Linked DNA regions of Homo sapiens: region 1 is linked to region 2. Evidence: promoter capture Hi-C in human tissues and cell types (Jung and others, 2019). All regions are on one chromosome and are shown on one strand. Each heading gives the region's core, a stretch centred on a gene start or on the middle of the fragment in contact. The rest is flanking DNA. Distances are from core to core; before and after follow the strand shown.

Region 1 (4,047 bases), core at 1,119-3,618, 1.6 Mb after region 2:
ACACACATGCTAGGGCATGATGCTGCTCTCCAGGGGAGACCATCTGCACAGTAGTTCCTAAAGCGATGGGACCAGGTGGCACCGGCATGATGACAGTAACAGTAAATGATGACATTTGCTATTATCAAATGGCAGTTGTCATTTAATTGGTTAGTAATCTGGAAGCCACCTATTAAAGGAAGAGCTTCTATGCCAGGGATGATTGACTGGCAGAGGCTGCTGAAAAACTGTGCTGAGAACTCTAATGCTATGATTAGTTTCCCAGGAAAGATGCTGAGATTGATCAGCGATGTCTTCTAGGGGTATGAAGAGTGAAAGCGGTAACATAGGGTCTGCATATTCAACATCCTTGTCTTTCATGCACCTTTCAAAAACTCCTCCTTCCTAAATCACAAGCATCCTTGTGGGAGGAAGGTAAAGACACTATCTCCACTGTTCCATCTAATCTTTCTTGGAGATGGCTCATTTCTCTTATAAGATCTGTTATAGCCCCCAACCCCATTCCATGCATGTATTCAGTCCAGTGTCAGTGCATCCTTGGCTCTCCATCGTCAAAGCTGCTGGCTTGTCCTGCACCTGGGTTTCTGGCTGAAGCCACCATTTCCTCTCTATGCCCCTGGAGACATCCAGCACCACTCCCAAGAGTGTGGGCTCACTGACCTTCCCCCTGACCTTCCTATCCCTCTTGACCTTTATATTTCATGCTACAGCTCGATAGATTATCCCTTCCTCAGCTCTGCCTTGTCTCTCTTCTAAATCCTTATTTCCTTTTCCTCCCATCAACCCGTTCATTCTACCTTCTCCACACACTCAGGGACCTCAGTTCTCTCCAACTAAAGAAGAGAGGGGAGAGAAGACCAACAGGGGACGATGAACAGTGAGGGGGTGCTGGATTCCAAGGAGACAGGGGTTTGGAACACACTGAAATGGAATTCTCTTCTAATTATTTAGGTGACGATATTTTTGTCTATTTCACCCAAGTCAACACTTACCAAGAAATTTCACTTCAGATAGAAGGTTATTTCAGGCACCATACAAAAAACACACTTGATCTCTGCCCATTGCTTCTCATTCTTGTATGCACCTCCAGATTCTACACGTTGTAGGTATTCATCATACTGTGGTATCAGAGCTGTTCCCTTACCTTCAATTTAAAGAGCTTCCACTATTGAGCCACAGAGTATAATCATCCTTCAATACGATTCCCACCGTGAATCATCAGCTTCCTTCCTGCCTTAGCACCACATGCTCCCCACCCAGCTCTGAGCCTTCTCATGCTTTCAGTCCCAAACAGTGTGTTCCAAACCCCCATCTCCTTGGAATCCACCCCCCTTCTCACTGTTCATCGTCCCCTGCTGGTCTTCTTCTCATCCCTCTCTTCTTTAGTCAGAGGGAACCGAGGCCCCACGCGAGTGAATATCTCCCAAGGAAAATATATTTTTGGCTCCGACTAGGAAATCATTTTTCAGCATGAATAACACAACTCTCTCCATCATTGTACTTTTGTCAATTTTTAAGCAATAGCTTAAGCAGCAGTAGGTTGTTTAGGAGCAGCCAGGAAAATAAGCTCTGGCCCATGTACCCCAGACTAAAGGAAATCAGACCGCAGGCCCAAAGGCAATAGCATAAACTCTCCACTTCCGATGTTTTTCCTTTCCATTTGGTTTCCATGGGACCCTGTGTTGGGGATGGGGAGGGCTTCCCAAAGTACCAAGTTGTATTCGTTAGCAAAATAAGGAACTGAATTTCAGGTTGAAAAAAAAAGAAAGCATTAAGAAGTGGGTAAGGGACCAGCGCACAAGAATTTGGATGCCTAATGTTTCAGAAACCCAACCCTGAGGCTGATGTTGAAAGCCCCTTGTTGACTACCATTTCTACCTATGTGCTCTTTGACCACTATCAAAGTTCAGAAGAGATTACACCTTTGGGACTTGCAAATATTTTCCATCCAACTTACAACCGAAATTGCAATGTCGTCTTTTGGAGAATGAGACTCAGAAATTCCTCTCTTTTAGGTTTTAAATGGTTCTGTAACTCAGCAAGCCAGCAGGCTTCTCTTAATCATTCATATTTCAGGGATCCAGCGCTGGGAACCTGTGATTAAAATTCACTAAAAGCAAACAACTAAGAAATGAGCTCTAGAAATGAGCATGGCAAGTTCCCAAGGTCCTCAGCTCTGTTGAGGAGCTGAGTCTGACAGACTAAACAAAGTTGGGAAGAAGATAAAATGTATGTCTTTGCAGTACCTCTTAGCTAATTGTCAATAAATTGTGGAATTTTTCTTTGCTAGCACTGAAATAATGATACCTTCAAGAGTATAGTCTTGTGTCACTTAACAACTGAGATACATTTTGAGAAATGCGTCATAAGGTGACTTCATCATTTTGTGAACATCATAGTGTGTACTTAAAGAAACCTAGATAGTATAGACTACTACACACCTAGGCTAGATGGGATAAACTAATGCTCCTCAGCTACAAACCTGTACAGCATGTTACTGTACTGAATACTGTAGGCAATTGTAACACAATGGTAAGCATTTGTGTGTCTATACATAGAAATAGTACAGTAACAATGCAGTATAAAAATAAAAACACCTGTACAGGGCAGTTACCATGAATGGAACTTGAAGGACGGAGTTGGTTTGGGTGAGCCAGTGAGTGGTGAGTGAGTGTGAAGGCCTAGAACATTACTGTACACTATGTGTATTTTATAAACACTGTACACTTAAGCTACACTAAATTCATTTTTACTAATATTTCAATAATAAATTAACCTTAGCTTACTGTAACTTTTTATCTTATAAGCCTAATTTTTTTAACTTTTTAATTCTGTAATAACACTTAGCTTAAAACACACATTATACAGCTGTACAAAAATATTTTTTTCTTTATATCTTTATTCTATCAGCTTTTCCCTATTTTAAAAATTTTTCATTTTTTTTAAGCTTTTAGACTTTTTTGTTAAAAATGAAGACACAGTGTCAGGACCTTCAGTGTCACTGTCTTCCACCTCCACACCTTGTCCCACTGGAAGGTCTTCAGGGGCAGTAACACACATGGAGCTCTCATCTCCTATGATAACAATGCCTTCTTCTGGAATACTTCCTGAAGGACCTGCCCAAGGCTTTTTTACAGTTAACTTATAAGTAGAAGAAGTACACTCTAAAATAATGATAAAAAGTATAGTATAGGCCAGGCGCAGTGGCTCACACCTGTAATCCCAGTACTTTGGGAGGCTGAGGCAGGTGGATCACCTGAGGTCAGGAGTTCGAGACCAGCCTGGTCAACATGGTGAAATCTCATCTCTACTAAAAATACAAAAAGTTAGCCGAGCGTGGTGGCGGACAAATCCCTGTTACTCGGGTGGCTGAGACAGGAGAATCGCTTGAACCCAGGAGGCAGAAGTTGCAGTGAGCCAAGATCAGGCCACTGCACTCCTGCCTGGGCAACAAGAGTGACACTCTGTCTCAAAAATAAATAAATAATTAAATAAATAAATAAAGTATAGTAAATACATAAATCAGTAAAATAGTCATTTATTATCAAGTATTATGTACCGTATATAATTATATACGCAATATTTTTATACAACTGGCATCACAGTAGGTTTATTTACACCAGCATCACCACAAACATGTGACAAATGTGTTGCACTATGACATTATGACAACTATGACACCATATGGGACCACCGTCGTACATGCAGTTCACCATTGATTGAAACGTCTTTATGTGGGGCAGGACTGTAGTTGCATTTTTATAAAAGCTTCTTGGAGTTGGAATTCATCTCTAATGGTGGGCCAGTAAGCATGGTGACATGTACTGGGGAGAAGATGGTGCTGAATTTCTAAAATCATACTATGTAGGAGATGAAACTGTCCAGTAGCATGGTGGCAGAGAGAGAGAGAGCAATGGATACATGCCTCATTTTTCACACCATCACAATATGCTATCCAGAAGGAAAGACGTTAAGCATCTAAAGCACTTTTTCATTCATTCATTCATTCAAAAGATATTTTGTGTGCCAAATATGCTATAGTGCTCT
Region 2 (3,826 bases), core at 1,043-3,542:
CTGCCCACTTCCCTATCCCATCTTCCTGCCTCCAACAGTGTAATTTGATTCCTCTGCACATGCTTTTCTTCTCTTCGAGCAAGCTCTTCCATCTTTCCTGTGGAAGAATTACCATCATTCTTCAAGGCCAGTCAAAAGTGCGGTGGTGATAAGCCTTTCACGGAGGCTAGCTCACGCATGGATACTTCACAGCAACTGAACTTGGCCCCTTTATAGCACTAACCGTTAGGTATTAACTACCTGTTCACCTGTCAATTTCCATCAGGTAGGCACAGTTCTTATTGACCTCTACGTACTCCCTCCCTAACACACGGATTATACCTGGCATATACTAACTGCTGGATAATTGGTTGCCAACAGCAACCTCTCACCCTAAGGAAAACCCCACAACACTGTTAGTTTCTAAACATCTGCTGAGAAAACGTTAACACAGGACTTGAAAGTGTATCAGAAAAACATAAACCAAGAGATGAGTGGACTGGGTCAAGCCTGACACAAAGTAACATAGAAAGGCGAAGGCAAAAACAAAGGGAAAAAAAACCCCCAAAACTGTACTATATTCCCAAGGGAGGGAGATTTCACAAAATGAGCAGTGGATAAGATTAGTAATATGAACAGCAAGTTGTGCAGCCTCCGGAAAGAATGCGCAAGGGTATCAATCTTCTAAGAGTGAGGTTCCAGGCACCGAATGGACTGGTCTTACAGCCCGGACAAGAAACGGAGACCGCTTGGTTGGGCTCCAAGACGGAGGTGTGCGGTCCTGCCACTGCGAACGGGGCGGGGAAGAGAGGAAATGACGAGCCAAAAGGGGTGGTAACGGCGCCGGGCCGGAGACCCGGGCGGAGCGGGCTGGGAGGAGGGGCGCGGCGGAGCAGGGGGAGTGGGCGAACTAACGGCCCCCTCTCCCCACCAGGGAGACAGCGGGGGCGGGCCCATAGGGCTCCGAGGCGTGGGCGGGCCAGCCCCGTTGCCAGCCGCACACGGGACCCCGCGGCCGCGGCGCGCACCCTCCCCAGGCCTCCCTCCCGACCTAGAGGGGCTGCAGATAAGACAGACCCGGCTCGCTGGGAGCGGGGAGCGGGGGGCGCGGGCCCCGGGGAGGCTTCCTGTCCCAAGGGCCGGAGAGTGGAGAGTGCAAGGGCAGGTTTAAGTTTGCGGCCAGAACGACCAGGAGGAAATCGCCGAGGCCCAGGGCGCGCATGTGTCCCCTAGTGTAGGGCCATTCGTGGCCCCAGGCCTGGGGCCTGAGAACCTGGGCCTGAGTCGGGGAACAGGGACGCATTCCCAACTGGCCCTGGCACCCTGCGAGGGTCGGAGCCCCGAGGTGCCTGCTCCCCGAGGCGCCATCCCCGCGCGGGGCGGCCCCTGCAGGCCTCGGCCGGGAGTGCCCCGAGGCGCTCGCAGGCCCCGGGCCGGGGCCGCTGGCCGCCCGGCTCGGCTAGGCTCAGCTCGACTCCCCGGGCTCGACGGGCGCCTGGGCCTCTCCTGAGTGGTCAGCGAGACCCGCCAATCGGGGCGCTGGGGCCGGCTCTGGGCCGCTGGATATTGGCTCCTCACACTCACCGTGCCTCGCTCCCCCGGTTCGCTGCCCGCGCTGATTGGCTCCAGTACCGGACTCCGAAACCCAATCAGAGGCTCCAGCCGCCGCTGCCGCCGCCACTGCCGCTGCCTAGCAAAATGGCGAACCCGAACAAAGGGGAATCGGGCCTCCCTCCAACCGCCTCCGCGCAGGCGCCTCTGAGGCCACGCCCACTAACTCCAGTTCAGGGATCGCCCCACCCCTTCGGAGGAGCAACGCGCAGGCGTTCCCTGAAGCCACGCCCACCTTCCCGCTTTGACACCACCCCCAGTGAAAGGAATACGCAGGCGCTTTCCAGACGCGCCAGACCCTTCAACTCAAAACGCTGCCTTGAGCTTAGTACTACGCAGGCGCTAACTAGCCCCTTTGCCAGCTGCCCACCCCTTTCCAAGTGGCCACTAGGACACACCCCTGCGGCTAATGCGCAAGCGCCACTTTTCCCGACTCGTGGGGCAGTTTCGTTACGCATGCGCGGGCGGCGGCGGGAAACCACGGAATTTACTGCCGGAAGTTCGGCGGCCTTCGCCAAAGAGTGTGGGCTCGGCTAGCAAGCTAGAGGGGCTCGTTTCCGCCCCGCTACCGGGCGGGGGCGGCCATCTTAGATGCGTGCAATTAAGGGCTTTGGCGGGATTGGCTCCGCGTTTGGGCTGGTCCGCTGCTCCCCACCTACCAGGGTCGGATCCGGAGCCCTTCCCCGCGGGGCGGGGACCTCCAAACAACCGACTCCTTTCCAGGTGAAGGGTGACTTGGGTACGTTGGGGCTTTGAGCGAGCCTCCCCGCACCCTCCCATAGGACCCCAGGACAGACTGCGTCCTCGCTGACCCGCCCTAGGGTAGGAGACAGAGAATGGGAGGCTTCAATAGACTCTTTCCTTCTCCCACGCACCCCCCAAAAAAGTGGGGGGTGAACGTTCCTTGAGAGGCCGCCTTCCTTTCCCCACGCCTGGGGCTCAGCACGCCAGTACCCTGTACACTCTGTGGTTGCGGCTTAACGGGACTGTGGCCAAGTCCCTTCTGTTTTCTTCTAAGCCAGACCCACTGGGGAAATACTTTTGCGTCGTGCAGAGAAAAGGAGACCGTCCTAAATCGGCCTTGCTCCGGAGTGGCCCTGGAGAAAGGAGGAGGCGTGTCTTAGGGATGGGCTTTGCTTCCGCTGACGGAGCGGGGCGCTCCAGGAAAGCACGAAATGAGAGCGGGTCGAGACAGCCTCCGAACCTAAGCGTTCTTCCTCTTTGCCCCAGAAGGGTTTTGTATTACGTCCCAGGGGCCGAACAAACTCACATTCATCGATAAACGTTGGGGAAAAAAGCCTATTAAGTGGTTGTACAGGGCAATCAGAATATTATATACTAAGGCTGCCTAAGCATTTTTACTTCCTTTTCCCTTCTCATAGCTGAAGAAACACTTAAATTCTGGAAATAGCGACTCAGTATCATGGCCAGCAGCCTTAATGAAGATCCAGAAGGAAGCAGAGTGCGTAACAACTATTGACTTATTGGTGAACTGAAATTCGTAATAATGGAGGTCAAAAGCATAAACACTTTTTAATTAAATTAATGATTGCATTATCTTTTTTTCTCTCTAGCTGATTTACTTTAAAAAGGCTCAAAATTCTAGGCAGGGATCATCCATTACTTTCCTTTTACACATGCTGTAATTGGTTTGGCTTTAAATCAGATTGGAGGAAGGGGTGCCGGGAGAGGTAGTCGTGGGGGACACAAAATACAGAAAAATAGCTTAGTATTTTACTGTATCTAATAAAACATTGTCTTTTCCTTTGCACATTTTTTAGATCACTTATGTGAAAGGAGACCTTTTTGCATGCCCGAAAACAGACTCTTTAGCCCACTGTATCAGTGAGGATTGTCGCATGGGCGCTGGGATAGCTGTCCTCTTTAAGAAGAAATTTGGAGGGGTGCAAGAACTTTTAAATCAACGTGAGTTTTGGAAACCACTTACCTGGTTTGCCCTGGCTAGAGCACCTTTTAATCTGTTACACTTTAATAAAATATGCGTGTAAAGAGGGGATTCCTAAGAACCAAATGTTTTTAAGATTTTCCTCCCCAAGAATGGCCTCTAGTTTAGACGTTTACCATATCAAAACCCAACTCCTGTGAAGGTTTTTAATCTCTTCCTCTTGTATCATGAAACTTTCTTGACGATATTACTGTACTTCTCTGAAACTTGAAATAACTCTGAGATGCTTAGTCTATAGGTTGGCATTCAAGATCCTTTACTTACCAATAT

What was found. Contacts are between HindIII fragments. The study calls those that stand out against the background at their distance.
Region 1: a contact is called between a fragment that was not itself captured here and the fragment with the promoter of OARD1 in region 2, in 1 of the 25 tissues and cell types used here (dorsolateral prefrontal cortex).

The regions. Positions count from the first base shown.
Region 1 is chr6:39,437,419-39,441,465 of GRCh38, reverse strand. All of the region lies in intron 13 of KIF6 (kinesin family member 6), which reads left to right. Among named protein-coding and RNA genes, the nearest start is that of KCNK16, 120 kb to the right of the region's middle. The HindIII fragment of the contact is 7,618 bases long and covers 1-4,047 here.
Region 2 is chr6:41,070,822-41,074,647 of GRCh38, reverse strand. OARD1 (O-acyl-ADP-ribose deacylase 1) reads left to right here and starts at 2,292. Exons shown (of 6, transcript NM_001329686.2): 1 at 2,292-2,412; 2 at 2,973-3,052; 3 at 3,372-3,516. The coding sequence starts at 3,014. NFYA (nuclear transcription factor Y subunit alpha) reads right to left here and starts at 1,674. Exons shown (of 10, transcript NM_002505.5): 1 at 1,564-1,674. RefSeq lists silencers at 784-943, 974-1,603 and enhancers at 1,984-2,033, 2,064-2,273. The HindIII fragment of the contact is 6,789 bases long and covers 1-3,826 here.